Regions from separate parts of the Homo sapiens genome. Here region 2 is linked to region 1. Evidence: promoter capture Hi-C in human tissues and cell types (Jung and others, 2019). All regions are on one chromosome and are shown on one strand. Each heading gives the region's core, a stretch centred on a gene start or on the middle of the fragment in contact. The rest is flanking DNA. Distances are from core to core; before and after follow the strand shown.

Region 1 (4,842 bases), core at 1,226-3,725:
GCCTCAGACTCATAAGCAGCTGGGATTACAGGCGTGAGCCACTCTGCCCGGCTAATTTTTGTATTTTTAGTAGAGATGGGGTTTCACCATGTTGGTCAGGCTGGTCTCGAACTCCTGACCTCGGTAGATCCGCCCGTCTCGGCCTCCCAAAGTGCTGGGATTATAGGCGTGGGCCATCACACCCAGCCAACCAGGGGTTCATTTTTTAAAGATAAGAGTGCAGGCTGCGTAAGCTACTATCCATGTCGTTACATACCGGGCCGACATGTACCTAGGCGGGAGGGAGACTGAACCAGTGAAATTCTAATGACAAAAAAAGAAATCAGAGTCATCCCCTACATTCACATCTCCAACGCCCAGCTGGAAGGCACAGGCTCTCCCCACTGCTGTCCTGCTACGATTTTTCCCGGCTTTGACCTGCATGGTGGTGCGGCTGCTCGACTCAGAGCCTCAGAGAAACCACACAGAGCCCTGCTGAGTCTTGCCCTCGGGGCATTCTCACATTTATGAAGAAATGCCTCCCCCTCCCCCTCCCCCCCAAAGTACGGTGTGGCAGAAAACAGCGCCAACAGGTCCTGCCAGTCAGAAGCCACTCCCCTGATTTCATGGCTCAAGACCCCAACTATAAATTAGCCCTTCCCACCTTGAATGTGTACACACACTATTGAGATGCAGGCCGATCCATGCCATGGGATGAATCTGAGAATTGCCAAGACCCACCTTCCCACGCCACCCAACCAAATCATGTGGCATCTGCTACAAGTGATTTTCCCCCTGAAATCCCACAAGAAAACTATTTTGAGGCCGGGCACGGTGGCTCACGCCTGTAATCCCAGCACTTTGGGAGGCCGAGGCGGGCGGATCACAAGGTCAGGAGATCGAGACCATCCTGGCTAACACGGTGAAACGCCGTCTCTACTAAAAATACAAAAAAAATTACCCGGGCGTAGTGGCGGGCACCTGTAGTCCCAGCTACTCGGGAGGCTGAGCCAGGAGAATGGCATGAACCTGGGAGGCGGGCTTGCGGTGAGCCGAGATCGTGCCACTGTACTCCAGCCTGGGCGACTGAGCGGGACTCAGTGTCAAAAAAAAAAAAAAAAAAGAAAGAAAAAGAAAAAGAAAACTATTTTGAAAAGCAGTTATCTCTGGCCTGGTGAAGAACACACCAGCACCATGCCCACCAAAACAGGAGCCCCATGGCTGTTTCCCAGAGAAACCTGGGACCCGCACGTCCATTCACTGCAACACAGACTGAATCTGCAGCCAAGCTCCGCTCTCTCACTACTGGGAACCCTCAGGGGGGATCCCTTAGCCTAAATCAGCACCAGTCACTACCCGCACACGATGTTATTACTACTGTTTTCTTATGAGTCAGCCCGTGTCACTGATTCCTGACGAGCTGGTGTGGAGAGCAGAAATGAATGATTTTTTTTTTAACTGCAATTTCCTTCTCACCAACCAGTCAGCAATCGGAGCTCTAACAGTAAACCGATTGCTCAGTTACTCCACGTGGGTGCCACGCAAGAGGCTGGGAGTATTGCTCAGCGGGGCCAACGGGAGGGTGGCACTTGCCTAAACCGCTTAAGTGGGGGAATGGAATGCCCACCGAAGGGCAGGGCAGGGACCCTGCTGTCCCGTCACTGAAGATATTCCCAGCCTGTGGGGAGAAGTGTAAAAGAATGAATGAAAGAAACGCACGTGGTTTCTGGGACCAATGACCTTAGCCTAGAACTGCCGGGATGGTCCAGGAACGTAAAGATGTAGAGATGTGGGAGCCAGGGGCGTAGTGATGCAAGGATGCAGGGACCCAGAGACTACGACCTCCCAACCCCCGGCCCGCGCCCCGTACTCACGCACGCAGAGGCAGGCCACGAGCTTGGCTGCCTCCTCGGGCACCGGGCAGGTGGGGAAGAGCGGCTTGAGCAGGTAGGTGGCGAAGACCAGGGCCACGATGTACTGCGATGAAGGCCGGATGATGAGCAGCTCGATCCAGAGCTTGAGGAAGGCGGGCAGCGAGCCGTAGACCTCCAGCATGTAGGCGTAGTCGCCGCCCGATTTGGAGATGGTGGTGCCGAGCTCCGCGTAGCAGAGCGCGCCCACGATGGAGAAGACGCCGCACGCGGCCCACACCACCAGCGCCAGCCCCGGCGAGCCTGCCTCCTTGAGCACGCCCGTGGGCGTCACGAAGATGCCCGAGCCGATAATGGTCCCCACGATGATGGCCACGCCGTTGAGCAGCGTGATGTTCCGCTGCAGGGTCACGCCCTCGCCCTCGCCTGCCGGCGCCGAGCCGTCCGCGCTCTTGGCGGCCAGCATCTTCTCCCGCGCCTCTTCCTTCTCCTCGGCCGCCGGCGCCGCTAGCGCGCGCCGCTTCGGGCCCGCACCCGCCATGCTCTGCGCACCGGCCGGGCCTGGGACACCCGGGAGCCGCGGCCCAGCGAGCAGTGTGCGCGCCGCCCGCCGCCCGCAGCTGCGTCAGGAACCCCGCCCGCGCCGCCTTTTAGGCCCCGGCCCGCCGGCCCCGCCCACCGTCCGCGGCTCCTCCCCGCCCCGTGGCCCGGCCCCGTCCCTCAGCCCCGCCCCCTCGGCCCAGCTCGGAGCACGTGCGTCGTCCGGCCCAGCCTGGCGGGCTATTCCCAGGCCCGCGTGGTCCTCGAAGGCCCCAGTCCTCCTGCGCCATGGAGACCCCGGCCTCGCGACCTCCCCCCTCCCGGCGCCCGCGTCATCCCAGCCCGTCCTCCCGGATGCGCCTGGGCGGGGCCTGGCAGTCAGGGCGCGCCCCTTCACCCACTGGCCCGCAGCCTCTCGTCAAGCCTGGGAGCGGGCAGTGCACCAGGGCTGGCCTGAGGCCAAGGATGGAGTTTGGGGTACCCCCCGAAGGGAACCTAGGCTCCTGTCCCGGATGGGCCGAGGGGATGGAACCGCCCCCACAACCAGCTCCTGGGGCACGGGGGAGGGATGAGAGGATGACCTGAGGGGAAGCTCCTGCAGCCTCCTTCCAGCCTGGGGGCTGCATCAGTGGGGCTGGTGAGCCGCGAACTGGGACGAGGGAAGAACCGAACCGAGGCCACCCAGTAATTCCCATTGTATCCCAAAAGAATCTTGCCAAAGACGGCGATCCGGTGCCCGTAGCTTTGAGAAGCAGTAATAACACAGGCTTTGGGAAGCCAGCAATCTGCCTGAGCTCAATTTAATCAACAGAACCGGGGGTTCGCTGGGAGCCATAAGACCCCCACCCCCAAATCTACCTGGGGAATTCAAAGGCAGGCTTCAGTGTGAAGGGGCTTTAAAGCTTGTTATTCCTAGGGAATGCGAGAGGCATCTTAGCTAAAAAGGGTTGAGAGGTAATTTCAGTTAGAGGCGAGAGCAGGATGCCAAGGCTCCTAGGCCTGGAAATGGGAAGGAATATAAATACTGCCCCGAGATTGACCAGACTGGTGAGCGGCCAAAGACCTGTTCAAAGGGTGTGTGTGGGTCAGGGAGGAAGCTCCTCAGTATCACCCCACCCCGGGGTTCCTTGGCGTGTGTGCAAACGAGTCCTTGGAAGCTCACAGCAGGCATGTGGGGAGGCCTTTGTTCTGGGTGAGCGTTCAGCCTCCCAGGGCAAACACGCAAACACCGGTTGCAGAGCTGGGTGTTCACAGCAAGACAGTCTGCTGGGCAGATGCCTCTGGAATCCACAGAATTCTGAACAATAGCCGTGGTGGAGGGGGGTCAGAATCCCTGTCGTGCTGGGACCTCTAGCTGCAGCCAGGAATGTCCAGGCCCCACCCCAGGGAGGGGGCGGCTGAGGAATGCCAGGGCTTGTCATTCTGGACCTTGCTCGCCCCCCGGTATGTCGGGCATTCCTCTGCGGTGATAAAACCGAGCGAAATCTCAGCAGCCCAGGCAGCCACAGGCGGGGGAGTGCGGAGGTCACACAGATACTAACTTGTAATCTGCCGTCCACATTGCTGGCTGTGGAAGGTGCAGAGACCCCTCCATCTGCCCTATTCTTCCCGCTGTGCCTGCAGAGGGAAGGAGACAGTACCACCATGGCTGGGCAAACTCACCGAGTGCTCACTGAGTCCTCCCCTAGACAGCTTCTTATGCAATAGGGTAGGTGCCAGTTAGAGCCATTTTGCAAATAAGGAAGCTGAGGCTTGGTAGGGTTACCTCGCTTGTCCGGCCAGCAAGTAGCCTGGGAGCTGTCCTTTTGACTCTGAACTTATATGGTACTTTTAATCATTCCACCATTCTTCTTTGAGTAACAAGAAAGGCAACCAACAGTCATACCCCAAAGCATAAAATTACAACCATGATAAGCCAAGGACATGACAGGGTGAGCCAGCGACAGCGACAGGGACCAGGCAGGTCCAGATAGACTTTTCTGAGGTGGTACCTGGAGCTGAGAGCCCAGGGTGAGTGAGAATTAATAAGGGAGGTGCAGGGGTCCCCACCGGCACAGAGGGGGCCCTGCACAGTTGGTGCAAGTCATGGTTGGTGCCCCCAGAGCCAGGCTCCTGGCAAGTGCTGGAGCCCTTAAGCAGGAAGGGTGACAACAGCCATGAGCGTGTTCAAGTCACACAGCTATTACGCCACCTCTGTCGGTTTTTACTGGGTTTTCATATGACAACATTCTAGATTTATCCAGCAAATCTACTCCTCTCAGACGTCCCTGATGCCGGCCCTGAAACGCCTTCGCCTGAAAGCTATGACTCTAGAATCTTAGCAAAGAGTGCCATCTGTTGGAAAGATTCGGCAGCGTTTTGATTTTTACAGAGGCAGGACAATGGTCTTTTCAGCTCCAGTCAGTAATTTATCACATGTTGTGTATTTTCAGAGGTTAAAAAAAAGAAAGAA
Region 2 (4,842 bases), core at 1,642-4,141, 250 kb before region 1:
CGGGAAAAGGAGCAAAGGCAGGATGAGGACACAACACTGGCCTGTGCCTGGCCTTGTGGCAAACACCTCATCCCTTAGGCCATTGGCCATCGTCCCTGCTGTCCTACAGCCCCGAGAGGCCAGGTACGTCCATGTGTCGTGCCCATTTTACAGACGGTGGAGCTCAGGCCTGGGAGACAGACTGACAGTGTTCGGCACTAACTCCACCCCAGCCTTTTTCCACCTGGCCACACTGTTTACTCGTTCCCGCCAGCAGCATGGGGGCTCTGGTGTTTCTGCGTCCTCATCCGCACCTGTCATCGCCTGTCTTTTTGGTTGCAGCCACTTCTGGGATGGATTTCCTGGAGGCTGGTGCTGAGTCTCTCTAGGTGCTTGTCGGCCCATTGGTACATCTTTGGAGCAATGCCTGTTCAGATCCTTGCCCATTTAAAAATTGGGTTATTTCAGGCCGGGCGCAGTGCTCACACCTGTAATTCCAGCACTTTGGGAGGCCGAGGTGGGCAGATCACCTGAGGCCAGGAGTTTGAGACCAGCCTGGCCAACATGGCAAAACTGCATCTCTACTAAAAATGGGAAAATGAGCTGGGCGTGATGGCAGGCGCCTGTAATCCCAGCTACTCGGAAGCTGAGGCAGGAGAATCACTCGAACCTGGGAGGCAGAGGTTGCAGTGAGCCAGGATTGCACCACTGCACTCTAGCCTGGGCAACAGAGTAAGACTCTGTCTCAAAAAAAAAAAAAAGGGGGGGCACTGCGCACCAGCCTGGGCAACATGGCAAAACCCCATTTCTATAAAAAATGCAAAAAATTAGCTGGGCATGGTGGTGCCTGTAGTCCCAGCTATGAGGAAGGCTGAAGCAGGAGTATCACTTGAGCTCAGGAAATCAAGGCTGCCGTGAGCTATGATCACGCCACTGCATTCCAGCCTGGGTGACAGAGCGAGACCCTGTCTTAAGAAAAAAAAAAAAAAGAAGGATTATTTGTCTTCTTACTGTTGAGTTGTGACATTTTCGTAGGCTGTAGACACCACTGTGAGCCACCGGCTCCCCTGCACCCCAGCCCACCTGGCTGCAGGCTGCCTGCTCCGTTGGAGGTTGGACTTCTGAGATAAACTGCGCTGGGTGTCTGTCTCTTGGCTCCAGAGTACCAGGCACAGTGCCATGCACACAGTAGGTGCTCAGTAAGCGGCGACAGGACAAAGCCAGGATCTCAGTCTGCGGCTTGGAGGGGTCTGGGGTCCGGCTGTCACTATCTGGCTCTGCTTACCAGCTCCGGTCCTCGGACACCACGACGGCTGCAGGCAGAGGGAGGAGCCACGGAGTCTGGGGGGATGTTGGGCCACACAAGTATCTACTGAGCGCCGACTGTGTGCTAGGCAACAAGCTGGCCCTGGGGACAGTGGTGAACAAAGAGCCCTAGGACTTCTTGGTTGGGGGAATAGGACCCGTCAGTCAGCCCTGCACAGCTTCCTGCGGGGCACGGATGGGGCGCAAGGAAGGGGCTGGAGATGCCTTCTAGGGAGTGAGGCTGGTGAGCGGGTTGGGGAGGAACCATGGGGCCTCCCAGACTTCAGGAGGCGCATCTGTGAGCACCAGGGACAGAAGGAACAGGGCCACCCTGGGACCCAGTGCGCAAGGAGCCCAAGGGCCCTCACACGTCACCCTTGGGTGTGCCAGAGCCAGTCCAGTTGTTAAGAAAAACAAGAGCCGGAGGTAAACCCCTTGGGAAACAGAGGTCCCAGCCCACAGTACTGCGTGGGAGGGAGAAGTGTGGGAGTCACCTGGGCTCTGGGGTCCCTCAGGCCAGCAATGGGGACTGGGATCCCAGCGCAGGCTGAGCCTGGGTGGCTATGTCCACACTGCAGAGACCTATCGTGAGCAAGTTTATGGTGCATTCCTGTGTGGAAGAGTACAGCAGAGGCCAGGGGGGTGGGGCTGCAGCGACAGTGACCAGGAGTCACCCATAGGGGCAGGGTCCTGGTGTCATGGGCCAGAGCGGGCCAGAGCGGGGACGGGGGGCAAAGGGAAGGAGCATTTGAGCCTGGATGGGGGTGTGGTTAGCAGAGAGGTGGGAGGGGAGGGAGAGAGAGAGAGAAGGAGAGAGAGGGAGAGAAGGAGAGAAGAGAGGGAGAGGGGGAGGGGAAGAAGGAGAAAAGGGAGAGGGGTGGGCTGTGAGGAGAGGGAGGGGAAGGGCTGCAGAGGGGGAACGTCAGTCCTGCCATGGGGGGGACGTGCGTTGTTCCTCGCCCCTCCCTTCCAGGTTTTGATGGTGCTGTTTCCTGCGTTTACACCACAGCTCTTTTTGCGTCTTTCCTTGGATTCCACACAGCAGCCCTGTGAGGCGCTGTCCTCCTGCTGCCCGGAGGAGGAGACTGAGGCCAGAGATGCGGCAAATTTCCCAAGGCCACACGGTTCTGCTGTTGGGGCGGCACTGGGCCTCCCTGCCCGCCTGCCTCAGTCTGGCCCTGTGAAGAGGTCTCTTGGAACTGTTAGGAGCATTCGAAAGAAACTGGGCCCCTGGGCTGGGTACGGTGGCTCGCGCCTATAATCCCAGCACTTTGGGAGGCTGAGGCCTGAGCACTTGAGGTCAGGAGTTTGAGACCAGCTTGGCCAACATGGTGGAACCCCATCTCTACCAAAAAATACAAAAATCAGCCAGGCATGGTGGCGGGCGCCTGTAGTCCCAGCTACTCAGGAGGCTGAGACAGGAGAATTGCTTGAGCCCGGGAGGCGGAGGTTGCAGTGAGCCGAAATCGTGCCACTGCACTCCAGCCTGGGCAACAGAGCGAGACTCTGTCTCAAAAGGAAAAAGAAAAAGAAACTGGTCCCCTGGAGCGCAGGGGTCAGCAGCTAACTTCTCGCCCTGGCAGCTGGACCCGACTTGGCCCAGAGTGCCAGGGCCAGTGCCCCCATCTGCTCTGTGTCGGGAGGGGCTGCTGGCAGGAGGAGGTGGCCACTCCAAAATCCTATAGACGGAGTCCGGGGGAGGGGGTTCGGGACAGGAACAGCCCAGACCTGGGATCCGCGGCTGCGCAAGGGGCTTCAGGGTGGTCTGGGCCTGGTTCTGAGCCCTGTGAATCCAAGGCCACAGGACTGGGCCTGGGGGCTTCTGAATCCCCACCAGTGCCTTCTTGCTCTCAGGAGCGTTGGCCAACCCCCCAGGCCCCAGGGCTTCCCCTCGTGATTCTCCTCTGAGAGAAACACACCCACCTACAGCCGCCAGCCAGGAGCAATTGCTGTGCAAACACCCGGGACTGTCTCAGACGGTGGATGCAGGCAGCCAAGCCCCCGGAAGGCTCCGGTTGAAGGGCCGGGTTTATTCCTCCCTGCAATGAGGGTGGACACTCCCCCAGGAACCACGGGGCAAGAGGGTGTTGGGAAGAGCCCCACTAGGGTTTGGGGTTTGGGTGGGTGGTGGGGAGGGGACAGTCTAGGGACGTAGGGCTCACTAGACCAAGTGCTGTTGGAAAGGGGGCGATTCTCCTGTGGGTGCGTTGGTCACTGTCGCCTGTAGACATGGGAGACCTGCACCAAAATAATGCGGAGATGGGTCAAGAAGCAGCCGCCCCTCCCCTTAGTCGAGAGGGGGGATGGTTGGTGATCGTGGGTGGCACAGTGACCTGTTTCTATCTCACTCTACTGTGATCTCAGAGTGACCTTGTCTGGGGTCACTGGGGTGTTCTGGGAGATGGTTTATATCCAACAGAAGAACGACGCAGCCTGGCAGGAGCTCCAGGTGTCAGGGGGGGGCCCCTTTGGGGTGGAGGGGATGCCTCAGAGCCAGCCGCATGCCACCCCACAAGCTACCTCTCTGCCGCCGTCTGCCCCAGAGCTGCCTGCCTTCCGAGGCCTCAGCTGGTCCTGTGCGTCCCTGCGTCTCCAGGACTCTTGGGTGATGGCTCAGGGGAAGTTTCCAGAAAGCCCAGCCATTTCCTCCTCTCCTCCTGGGCTTGGGTCTGAGGTCAGCTTCCCAGGGGGCACCCAAGCCTCCGTGAGCAAGGACAGAGAGTGGCTGGAGTGAGAACGGGTGCTGCTGACCTTTGGCGGTGGGAGGGTGTCTCCAGCTGTGTTCCCATTTCTCAGTGACTACCAGGTGCTGTGGCCCTTGGCTGCAGAGGGGCGTGCAGGCAGCCTCTCCTTCCTGTGAAGCAGCAGCTGTGGCAGGGCCGGGAAGTAGAGCTCCCCTCTGTGAGGCTGTGGCTGGGGTAGGAGGAGAGCTCTCCCTTCTGCGAGGCTGTGGCTGGGATGGAAGTCTGCCAGAGGCGGGCTCAGAAGAAGTTCCATGAGGAACTGAGGGCTGGGACCTGCAGGAGGAGCTGAGGGTGCATGGGGTCTGGGGGAGCCCCAGAGATGGTCAGGGTCTCCTCCTGATAAATCAGACCCCCCCCCGCCCCACCCTGCCGCTGAGAGGCCTGGTCCTGCTCTAAACCTGGAGTGGATGGGGAGCGTGGGCTGGGGCTGGGGGGCTGGGGAGGTGGTGTAGCCAGTGCCCTGCCCCAACTCAGCCTCTGGTCACCCTTCCAGGGCTGGCAAGGCATTGGGGGTATGAGAGGGCCCTGGGGTCCCAGGGTCTCAGAGGACTTGCCTTCTCTGCGATGGCCGCTACTACCTGGGTCCCACAGGGGGGTAAGTTCAGAGGGGGACCTGGTGGAGGTCGGCTGTGGGCAGGGGAGCCACAGGAGTGTCCAGGCCCCTCCCAGGCCAGCCCCACAGATTCTGAGGCAGCAGTGGGGGCCTCAATGGAGGAGTCCACTCTGCCCACCCCGGATACTGCCCAGCCAGCCTGGGTTCCAGCGTGGGCCAAGCTCTCGTCCTGGTCTCCTGGGAGCTGTGTGGTCCTGCAAG

The links. Contacts are between HindIII fragments. The study calls those that stand out against the background at their distance.
Region 2: a contact is called between a fragment that was not itself captured here and the fragment with the promoter of SLC7A5 in region 1, in 1 of the 25 tissues and cell types used here (H1 embryonic stem cells).

What each region holds. Positions count from the first base shown.
Region 1 is chr16:87,867,032-87,871,873 of GRCh38, forward strand. It overlaps SLC7A5 (solute carrier family 7 member 5), which reads right to left and starts at 2,476. Exons shown (of 10, transcript NM_003486.7): 1 at 1,854-2,476. The coding sequence starts at 2,391. RefSeq lists a silencer at 2,440-2,789, enhancers at 3,030-3,789, 3,234-4,433, 3,790-4,551 and a cis regulatory region at 4,513-4,839. The HindIII fragment of the contact is 6,482 bases long and covers 1-4,531 here.
Region 2 is chr16:87,618,362-87,623,203 of GRCh38, forward strand. All of the region lies in intron 1 of JPH3 (junctophilin 3), which reads left to right. Among named protein-coding and RNA genes, the nearest start is that of JPH3, 18 kb to the left of the region's middle. RefSeq lists enhancers at 1,089-1,933, 1,934-2,778. The HindIII fragment of the contact is 4,846 bases long and covers 469-4,842 here.